Linked DNA regions of Homo sapiens: region 1 is linked to region 2. The links are contacts of gene promoters, found by promoter capture Hi-C in blood cells and fetal thymus (Javierre and others, 2016). All regions are on one chromosome and are shown on one strand. Each heading gives the region's core, a stretch centred on a gene start or on the middle of the fragment in contact. The rest is flanking DNA. Distances are from core to core; before and after follow the strand shown.

Region 1 (5,897 bases), core at 1,200-3,699, 130 kb before region 2:
TTTACAACCTTTCATTATAGGACACAATTTTTAAAAAGATGCCAAACTATACAAATAAGTTCAGAAAAGTGAGGTACTATTGAACCGTCTGGAAAACATAAATGTATGTGAAATAATGCAATGCATAGTTTTGCAGGGGACTTTGTTCAAAGTTTCTCGAAATACCATGGTCCAAAGTAGACTAACATTAGCATTGGTTATTTATGATGATCAGTAAGAATACTAAATCAAAAATCAAAGGAAAATTAAACTATGTCTGTTTAAAGAGAAACGTAGTTTACCTCAGACTGAGAGTTAAAACAAGTTTGTGATTCAGGAAGGTGGAATTCAGAACCTAATTGGGCAGCCTCCAACATTTCCATTAAGGTTTGGATTCTTAAAATTTTTCAGTCTTCGGTATGCTCTGGTAGTCTGATGAAACTTACAGATTCTTTTCATAAATAAGATACTTAAAGTAATTCATAGGGTTACAATTGTATTAGACCAATAATATTAAAATAATTATCAAACCACTTGACCGTAATATGTGTGTTTTTGTTGATATACCTAATAGTACTTCGGAAATAAGCAAGCACGATTTCCAGATTCTTGCAACAACTATAACCTACAAATTTGTTATTTCTATCAGTCACACACAATGGAAGAAAATTCTAAATTTCAGCTACAGGATAATGAATAGATGAAAAACAACAACAACAACAACAACAAAAAAACTCCCCTAATCCATATTCTGGGACACCTTGATTCCTATTTATTGATCCCTTGAAGTCAGTGGATAGCATATTAAGAAACAATAGTTACAATGACACCACAGAAAGACTAGAATGTAGTACTTGTGTTAAAAAAAAAAAAAGTATCAGCAAGTTATGTTTGGATGCCAAATTGCTCTCCACTTCCCTTCCCTGACACTGGCATTTCCAGAACTTAGATGCTCTTACATGTAAAAGCCTCCTCTAGTGCACCATCGAGCTTTTCAGGATTGGACATCAGACTTTTTAGTTCCTGGACCTCTAGATATACGGCAGTCTCTGACAAGAAGCCCTTTTTCTGTTTTAACTTTTTTTTTTTTTAAGTTTTGAGACAACGTCTGACTCGCTGTCACCCAGGCTGGAGTGAGGTAGCACCATCATAGCTCACTGTATCCTTAAACGCCTGGGTGCAGGGACTAAGGGAGCGTGCCAACCATGCTTGACTAATTTACTTTTTTGTAAAACCAGTAGTCTCCAACCTTTTTGACACAAGAGACCGTTTTGTGTAAGACAATTATACCACGGACCAGGGGGTGCAGGGGCTGGGAGCAATGATTTCCGGACTAAAACTGCTCCAACCTCAGATCATCAGGCATTAGATTGTCACAAGGAGCCTGAAACCTAGATCCCTTGCATGTGCCATTCACAATACAGTTTGAGCTTATGAGAATCTATCTAATGCTGCAGCTAACCTGACAGGCGGTGGAGCTCAGTTGGTTAATGTTCGCTCACCCCTCAGCTGTGCGGCTCAATTCATAACGTGCCATGGACAGGGACCGGTTACCGGTCGGTGGCCGGGGAAATGAGGACCCCTGGTATAGATGGTAGTCTGGCTATGTTGCCCAGGATGGTCTTGAAGCCTGGCCTGAATTAATTCTCCAATCTCAAGCCTTTTCAACTCAGCTGCATCACAACTTAAACCTATAGATAACTGTCACAGAAACTTGTTTCCAGTGTTACGCCATCTTAAAATAATGTGGGTGGCTCTTAAAAGAGCCTTTGGGTTCTTTCCAAATTGGCCTCCCGGAAAGCTCTTTACTTCTTAGATGTGGCCTTTCTAACATTAACTTCATGATGTTGGGTCAATTTTGACTTCGAAGCCCTTGCCTTCACTGGGCTCTTCTGCTGTTGCTTACCCTTGGCTCCTTTAGCCTTTCTCCCGCTCCTAACAGTTTTAGGAGTTGTCGCTCTCGGCTTCTTGGCTCTCTTATTGGTTTTAGCAGTCTTTGGTGACTTGGAGTCCCTGGATAAAACCAGCTTCTTGGTCTTGGCAGAAACTGACTTTTTAGCCTTGCTTCTGGTAGATTTAGGAATCACCTTCTTACTAAGCTTAAAGGAACCGGAAGCACCAGTACCCCTGGTTTGCACCAGGATTCCCTTGTTCACTAAGCTCTTGAGGGACAGTTTGATGCGGCTGTTATTCTTCTCTACGTCGTAGCCAGCAGCGGCCAATGCCTTCTTGAGCGCAACCAAAGACATACCTACTCGTTCCTGTGACACTGAAAGGGCCTCGGTGATCAACTTGGACACAGAGAGGTTCGGCACTTTGCGACTTGCACTTATCAAGCCAGCCGGCTTCCTCCCTCGCTTCTTGGTTGGAAGTTTCTCCATAGCGGCTACACCAGCACTGGCAGAAGCTGCAGGCACGGTTTCAGACATAACAACAGAGAAACGCAAGATGTAATAACCAGCGAAAAGCATGAAACACCCGGGCGGCCTCGGGGCCTTATATAGGGTAGGGCGCGCTGTGATTGGTGCATCACCTAGGCACCGCCCCCGCCCCTTGGAGGAGGAGTATTTGTGTTTGTTTTACCCGGAAAAGTTGAGTATAACAAAACCCCTCTTTACAGAATCTCCCAGGGTCTAGTGCTGAATAATCTGCGGAAATTCATATTTGACATGACTTTTCTCTTTTTAATGAAAAATGACCCTGGATGCCAAAACTATTCGAGAAAGCCCTCGATTTTCAATCAAATTCACGGAGAGGAACAAAACTTCCCCTTTTCCTTGTAAATTAATAAGTAATCTTTGGCAGAAGACTTATTTCATCTCTTCAGAGTGGTCTTCCAAATGGATAGCTTCAAATCGGTAGAGGAAAGAAATTATTCACGCCATGATTTTTATTTAAAATTATTTATATATGTGAGGGAAGTAACACAGATCTCTTAGCTGTCTAATTGCGGAGTCAGAAGATGCTTATAGAATTGTCAAAAGACTGCAGAGGATGTCTTTATTTAGGCATGTGCAATCTAATAAATCATAATCCACAGGAACATGGGTTGTCTGTAATTAAAGGTGCTCCCAAGTCCCTGTAGCTTTATAGAGGACTCTCAAGGATGGGGTAATATCAAGATCTCACACATTATGTAAGATTGGCCATAATCAGGCCACTCTCATGACCGGTGTCCTCAACTGAGTTTTGCTTCTGGTTTCATTAATTGAAGTCCCCTCTATCCCCCTGCCCACCCCTACATCCCCAGATAAACAGACACAGTCCCTCCCCTAAATTAACTATAAAACATGAGGTAGGAACCCTAGACTCAAGAACCTACTAGAAACTACAGACCCCATGTCTAACAAGACTGGGCGGGTTGGCTGGGCGCAGTGATTCATGCCTGTAATTACAGCACTTCGGAAGGCTGGAGGCCAGGAGTTCAAGACTAGGTTGGCCTGGTCCCTACTGAAAAAAAAAAAAATTAGCTGGGTGTGGTGGCACATGCCTGCAGTCCCAGCTTCTGGGTAGACTGAAGAGGATCACTTAGAGCCCAGGAGCTTGAGGTCGCAGCTACTGCACTCCAGCCTGGGCAGACCCTCATCTCTGAATTGCTTAATTAATTAACTGAGCTGGCAGATTTGGCTGCATAGCTGTGGGGAAAGGGTTGTTGGAATAATGTCCAGTGTGCTCCCCTGAGCTTCTACTGGAACAGGTCTTTGTGAGAGGCCTGGAGATAAGAGCTTGCTCACAAAGGCTGAGGCCTTTCTGGGATGCTGAATGAGTTTAGTGTGGCCAGAGCATAGGGTCTCAGCAAAGGAAAACTCCATAAGGGCCATTTGTGAAGATCCCCAAATACTTGTGTGAAACATTTGGTAGATATTAGAAGTTTTGTTTTGGTTTGGTTTGAGACAGAGTTTTGCTCTTGTTGCCCAGGCTGGAGTGCAATGGTGTGATCTTGGCTCAGTGCAACCTCCACCTCCCAGGTTCAGGCAATTCTCCTGCCTCAGCCTCCCAATTAGCTGGGATTATAGGCGCCCACCACCATGCCTGGCTAATTTTTTGTATTTTTAGTAGAGATGGGGTTTCATCATGTTGGCCAGGCTAGTCTCGAACTCCCCACCTCAAGTGATCTGCCCGCCTCTGCCTCCAAAGTGCTGGGAATACATGCGTGAGCCGCCGCGCCCGGCAGACATTGGAAGTTTTTAAGCAGAGAATTTGTTGTATTGTTGTAGTTGTCTTGGGTTTAGATTTATTGCATAAACAATCATTTTTGAGAAGGGCCCACAGTCAGAAGTTGGGAGTCTGTTGCAATAGTCTCAGAAGAATGGCAAAGACCTTGCCTAAGGGGACAGTGTGGTAAAGGAGAGAGTCTACATTTGAAATATTTCTGAAACAAAAGCCAAAAGATAAGACTTCAAACTTCTGATTGCAAAGTGAGATAGAAAAGTTTCTTTCTCTCTGTCTCTCTGTTATACCCATACACACACACATATGCACAAACACCTGAAAGAAAAAAAAATTCAGGGAACAGGCCAGGTAGGGTGGCTCATGCCTATAATCCCATAAATTTGGGAGGCTGAGGCTAGTGGATCACTAGAGCCCAGGAGTTCACAAGGCCAGCCTAAGCACATAGCAAGACCCTGTCTCTACAATTAAAAAATTACCCGGGTGTGGTGGCACGTACCTGTGGTCCCAGTTACTCAAAAGGCTGAGGTGGGAGAATCACTTGGGCCCAGGAGGTCAAGGCTGCAGTGAGCATGATTGTGCCACTGCACTTCAGCCTGGGCAAGAGCGAGACCCTGTCTCAAAAAAAAAAAATTTTTTTTTTTTTTCCAGAAAACAATACTATCTTAAGCACCAGCACTTTAGTATATTCTACTGTGGACTAGTTCATTTTTAAAAGAACACTAGGTTGGAAATCATGAGATTGATTCCACAACTCACTAAAGCACCGTGTCACTCAGTTTGGAAAATATTTCTCCTTAGAGAGATTACAGGTGCATCTTTCTGAGCACCTGTATGTTTTTACATTTGTTTGGCTTCTCTGACCTTTGATAATTTCTGAGTGTTGTACTATTAAATATTAGTGGCTAGGGGTCAAATTGTGGATCAGGTTGATCCTTATATTTACAAGTTGACAGATACGTTACTCCATTGCTTTAAAACTAACACAGAATTAGAGAATTTAGAAAATTCTTACATTCCATAATTTAAGACCCAGAAAAAAAAGATTCATATTTTGCATTAGATAGCTAAAATGGTACCATAAAAACAAATGATATCCACATATATATAGTATATAGTGCTTCTTCTGTGCCAGTCACTATCCTAAGTTTTTCTCTCCCTTCCCCAAAAATGTAGGAATTAACTTTATAGATGAAGAAACTGAGGCACAGGAATGTCACATGACTTGCCCAAAGGAAATTCAGTCTTCCTTTTTCAATTCTTTTTTCTTTTTACTTTGCTGCAGGGTCTCGCTGTGTTGCCCAGGATGCTCTTGAACTCCCGGACTCAAGCGATCCTCCTTCTTCAGCCTCTCAAAGTGCTGGGATTACAGGCATGAGCCACTGCGCCCAGTCAGGAAATTCAGTCTTCTAAACATTCATTATTGAAATAATATTTCCATAAACATTTTCTTAGATAAACTTTGGCATCTCTAACTTCTAAGTAGCAAAGTCATGGAAACAGTCACAGAGAAAATAACTTTATTTTAAAAATAATAAATTCTTATCTCCGGTGATAAGAAAAGTATACAGCCCATTTTTTAAAGTATTAATTTTACATTCTAATTTGGTTTTTTTAATGTTTACCATATATTTCTCTTTCTACATATGTGTGTGAGTGAATAAAATAAAGGCATCTACAGATTTTTACATGTTCAGTGAGATTAGCAGGGTTTCACTTGACAGCACTCTTACCATACTCACTTCTTG
Region 2 (5,573 bases), core at 2,756-5,255:
TGTTTCTTCTAACAAAAATACTCATTTCAAAAAATCAAGTTATTCTGGCCTACACTCAATAGTGATTAGAGGATTTTTTCATATAAATCCTAGATAAAATAATCAACTTTAAAGATGTCATCTCTCCTCATTCAACTAATTTCATAAAAATTACTTAGCTTGTCTTGGCCAGGCGCAGTGGCTCACGCCTGTAATCCCAGCACTTTGTGAGGCCATGCTGGGCAGACCACCTGAGTCAGGAGTTCAAGACCAGCCTGACCAACATGGTGAAACCCTGTCTATACTAAAAATACAAAAATTAGGCGGGCATGGTGGCACACGCCTGTAATCCCAGCTACTTGGGAGGCTGAGGTAGGAGAATCGCTTGAACCCGGAAGGCGGAGGTTGCAGTGAGCCAAGATAGTGCCATTGCACTCCAGCCTGGGCAACAAGAGTGAAATTCCATCTCAAAAAAAAAAATTACTAAGCTTGTCTTAAGTAATTATTTACTCTCTTGCATGTATTAGAAACAAGTCTCTGGGACTTAAGACCGTGTTATACACCACTGAAATACAAATGTGGTTTATAAAAAAGCTAAACTTATAGAATTGGATTAGTAGGACCCCACAATTCCAGTAGGGAAGCATTTTATAGGTTTCTGGAGGCAGGGGCGGTGCATCATTATGGATATCATTTTCAACAGTGATAGTCACAAGCATACTCTAAGTATTTTTTTTTGGGACCATAGCTTTATATTGCCTAGACGTAAAGGTACAATTAAAATTCAGATTGTTTACTGTTTATTATTTTGATCATTATTGTAGTCTTAATAGTTGTTGAATAATTGTTGGAATTGTTCACCGTGTTAGATATAGTCAATTAACAGATGCCACCATTTCATTCTTGTGCAACACTGACTGGTTCCCATAGCTACTTAGGATCTCAGTAAGTAAAAAGGCATTGGGCTAACTAATCTCTGCTCTTTCTGGAGGGCAATAACTGAGACTCAGTTTCACCAACAAAGTTCGCCAGATGTTCAAAGAGGAAAGGGGCTAGGCTACATAAGTTGGGACCTGGTACTTATCTTCTCTGTAATTGTAGCAAGGACAAGGTTCCTGAAAGCTGGATCACCCCATGGACTGTAAACTTGAAGTCCTGCAAAGTTTCACCTATTACTTTGGTAGCCCTCAAAAAGAGTTCTGTGTTGCTTTGGAATCCTAAATCTGAATATAATCTAAAACAGTAGATTTCCCATTACACTGAGGTTGGAACCATTTATTTTATAGATGCAAAAAGTAGCTAGGAAAAACTAGTTAGATAAGTGATAGCTATCTAACTTAAGGCCCAGTGTTCTCTTCATTTTGTGTTAACTCCCCCATCCCCACCACCACCATAGTAAATGACTATGAGAGTTGTAGGTAGTATTCAATAGATCAATCCAGTGACACTGTGCTTAAGCATCACACAATTCAGATTTTAAAGATTTCCAAAAAAAAAAAAAGAAACTATATAGAATAAATATTAAAAGGGGTGAAAACATATATAGACTATTATAGAAAATAAAGCTTTGTGTTAGAATCAAACGTGTTCAAAAAGTCCATGAGAAATCACATCGATTGTAACCGTCTATGAGGTAGTCTTACCTGAGGACACTGGCTCCTTGAAATTCCTCTTCAAGTACAACAGTATTGTGTTAATTTTATTTCCTAAGAAGGCCACTACTATACTCAAACTTACAGTTTTCTCTTTACATGTCTCAGGCATCCACCAAACTCCCTCCTCCCTTCTAGACTGGATTAGAAGCTCTTCAGAAGAAACCCCCTTATCACAGATACAGCCCAATAAAACTTTCTGCGATGATAAAAATATTCTGTATTAACACTGTCCAATAGGTAGCCACTAACCATATGTGGCTACTGAGTACCGTAATGTGGCTAGAGTAAGTGTGCAAATTAATTTTTAATTTAAATTAATTTAAATAAAAATGAGCACATGTTGCTAGTGGCTAATATAGGACAGCAGAGCTTTAAAACAATTATTCTCAAACTTGGAAGAGCATACCTACCACCCACTTAGAGATCTCATTAAAAATGTAATATCAATTCCATTGATTTGGGGTTGGGCCCGAAATTCTGTATGTCTAACAAGCTTCAGAGTGATGCCAGTATAGCTGGGATATGGCTGCTCCGCCCTTAAATACCTGACAGTAAGTAGAAGTATGCTGGTCTGATATCTGCCCCCTAACCCTGAGTGTACTTTTCCCTTTACTAAACTTTTGAGTTCTTTAAGAGAATAAATGTGATTATCTTTGTAAACCTGGTATTTGTACACTATTCTTGGCATGTAGTGGACATTAAATTGTTGAATGAATGAATGATGCTTGTTTGGTGCCTACCTCAAAAAGGAGAGCACTTGAGATCCTTGTGTCTATTCCTACAGGTAACTGAACCTAAGCCAAAATTTAAGTAGACTCTTAACTCCACAAAATGAATAATCTTCTCACTGCTTTTAGGCACCAGCAGAGACGGGATTTTTAAGTTACCCTTGCAGTATATAGGAGGCAATGAATGTGAAGCAGTAGACTGTAAGAGTTAATGTTGAATTTTTCTACTACACATACCCTATGATCTGTGTGTAGAACACTTCTTCCGGAATCTTTTATTAGGACAGTATTTCACAGAATTTATTAGTATTATTTTTGTTAATTTACAAACCTTTATTCACCATGATTTACCATGTATGCTTTAGTGGCATGAAAGCAGTGGTAGGTAGCAAGGTAGTGAGACTCCAGAATCGAGCCAACAATACAATGCCATTTATTAGAGGATAATGTCTTCAAGCCTGGGATTCCTTATCTTTACACCTCAGATATTGCATTATACATTGAAAAACTAAGAATGAAACTTCAATTAATATTGGTTTCCCTTACTAGAGGTCTTTCTTTATTAGGAATGCCAAAAACGATGTGAATGTATATGTCTCTGCCAAACGCTAAGTCTCATGATTGGCCAAATTTAAGAAGTATTGCTACATTTTAAGAATTAATAAAAATGGCCGGGCGTGGTGGCTCACGCCAGTAATCCCAGCACTTTGTGAGGCCAAGGTGGGTGGATCACCTGAAGTCAGGAGTTCGAGACCACCCTGGCCAACATGGCGAAACCCCGTCTTTACTAAGAAAATACAAAAATTACCCAGGTGTGGCGACGCGTGCCTGAAATCACAGCTACTCGTGAGGCTGAGGCATGAGAATCGCTTGAACCCAGAAGGCGGAGGTTGCAGTGAGCCGAGATAGCGCCACTGCACTCCAGCCTGGGCAACAGAGTGAGACCCCGTATCAAAAAAAAAAAATTAGTAAAAATACATTTTCAAAGAATCTTCACATTTAAAAATTAAAGCTAGGCGCCTGTAATCCCAGAACTTTGGGAGGCCGAGGCGGGTGGATCACCTGAGGTCAGGAGTTCGAGACCAGCCTAGTCAACATGGCGAAACCCCATCTCTACTAAAAATACAAAAATTAGCCGGGCGTGGTGACGCGCGCCTGTAGTTGCAGCTACTGCAGGGGCTGAGGCAGAAGAATCGCTCGAACCCGAGAGGCGGAGGTTGCAGTGAGCCGAGATCACGCCACTGCACTCCAGTCTGGGGCAGAGCAAAACTGTTTCAAAAGAAATAATAATTTTATTCTCTTGTCTATCCATTCGGTAGACAAGTGTAGCGTTACTGCCTCCTTTTTGCAAATAATAAGGATTTTAGGAGACAGACATTATCAGTTCGAGAGCCCACAGGCACTGGACTAGAAGACACAGAAACCTACACTCAAGACCCAAACAAGGAAACAGGAAGGAGTCAAATCAACTTGCATTTCCCCTACCCTCACCGCCCCCTTTCCTTCCCAAGGCAATAGTGTAGGGGACGCCCAGTAAGTTACGGAAAAGGCGGAGACAGAGGTTTCGTTCCCGCCCCTCCAATTCAGTCTCCAAAAAGGTCCGCATAATTGATATATAAGGGGCTTCAGTGTGTAGCAAAGTTGCAAAAGTTAAGAGTTGTTGTTTGTCTTCGATCATGTCTGGTAGAGGCAAAGGTGGTAAAGGTTTAGGAAAGGGAGGCGCCAAGCGCCATCGCAAAGTGCTGCGTGACAACATACAGGGCATCACGAAGCCCGCCATCCGTCGCTTGGCCCGACGCGGCGGCGTGAAACGCATTTCGGGCCTCATTTATGAGGAGACCCGCGGTGTTCTTAAGGTGTTCCTGGAGAATGTGATACGGGACGCCGTAACCTACACGGAGCACGCCAAGCGTAAGACAGTCACTGCAATGGATGTTGTCTACGCGCTCAAGCGCCAGGGACGCACTCTGTACGGCTTTGGTGGCTGAGCCTCACCCCGGCTTTTTATTTAACAGCTCACCCATAAAAGGCCCTTTTCAGGGCCACCTCCTTCGTCACACGAAGGGCTGTAACTGATGACGACTTGGGTTTCGTTTTGTAAATTTGGGATTCTAACTGAGTTAAACCGAGCCGTTTTTAGCGATCTTCCTAAGATGGCGGATGTGCTAAGGAGAAAGGGAAGGCGAAACATTAGAAACTTGTTCAGGTATTTCGATCGCAAACATTCACAGGAAAAGATGGTGGAAATGGTTTGGGAATACCAGCAGCCTTTTATGACGTATGTGATGTGTTTTATTCCCACGTTTCTGAAATTTACTCCTATGTTAGGTGGCTGGGACTTAACTACACTAGCATTACATGTTTAGTTTTTGAGATGGAGTTGCTCTTGTCCAGGCTGTAGTGCAATGACGCAATCTCGGCTCACCGCAACCACCCCCTCCCGGGTTTAAGCGGTTCTCCTGACTCAACCTCCCGAGTAACTGGGGTTACAGGCATGCGCCACCACGCTTGGCTAATTTTTTATTTTTAGTACAGAAGGGGCTTTTCTGTGTTGGTCTGGCTGGTCTCGAACTCCCGACCTCAGGTGATCCGCCCTTCTTGGCCTCCCAAAGTGCAGGGATTGCAGGCGTGAGCCACCGTGCCCGGCCTTAGTGTTATTTATTAGGCATAGAACGTGAGTAATCTTAGGGCGGCTGTGGACAGATCAATTACTGGTAAACTTAATCCACTACTTGTGTCCGGGCGCGGTGCCTCAGGCCTGAATCACAGCACCTTGGGAGACCACGGCGGGCGGATTACTAGAGCTCAGGAGTTCGAGACTAGCCTGGGCAACCAAAATGGTGAAACTCCGTCTCAACTAAAAAAGTTAAATAGGAAAGTTAGCCCGGCGTTGTGGCGGACGCCTGCTGTCGCAGCTAATCTGCAAGGGCTGAGGCAGGAGAATCGCTTGAGCACGGGAGGCGGAGATTTCAGTGAGCTGAGATGGTGCCACTCCACTCCTGCCTGGGCGACAGAGACCATGCCTCAAAAAAAAAAAAAAAAAAGTAAAGTTTGGCCGGGCTCGGTGGCTCATGTCTGCAATCCCATCTGTAATTCCAGCAGCTTGGGAGGCCGAGGTGGGTGGATCACTTGAGCTCAACGAGTTCGAGACCAGCCTGGCTAGCACTGCAAAACCTCGTCTCTACTAAAAATACAAAAATTAGACGTAGAC

The links. The method cuts DNA at HindIII sites, captures the fragments that hold promoters and counts their contacts. A CHiCAGO score of 5 or more calls a contact.
Region 1: the fragment with the promoter of H1-6 here is called in contact with the fragment with the promoter of H4C6 in region 2 in 1 of 17 cell types (monocytes); the score reaches 5.4 in monocytes.

Annotation. Positions count from the first base shown.
Region 1 is chr6:26,105,686-26,111,582 of GRCh38, forward strand. It overlaps H1-6 (H1.6 linker histone, cluster member), which reads right to left and starts at 2,450. Exons shown (of 1, transcript NM_005323.4): 1 at 1,727-2,450. The coding sequence starts at 2,408. The coding sequence ends at 1,785. The HindIII fragment of the contact is 5,524 bases long and covers 2,077-5,897 here.
Region 2 is chr6:26,236,388-26,241,960 of GRCh38, forward strand. It overlaps H4C6 (H4 clustered histone 6), which reads left to right and starts at 4,006. Exons shown (of 1, transcript NM_003540.4): 1 at 4,006-4,406. The coding sequence starts at 4,039. The coding sequence ends at 4,350. RefSeq lists enhancers at 3,633-3,732, 4,193-4,242. The HindIII fragment of the contact is 5,393 bases long and covers 2,126-5,573 here.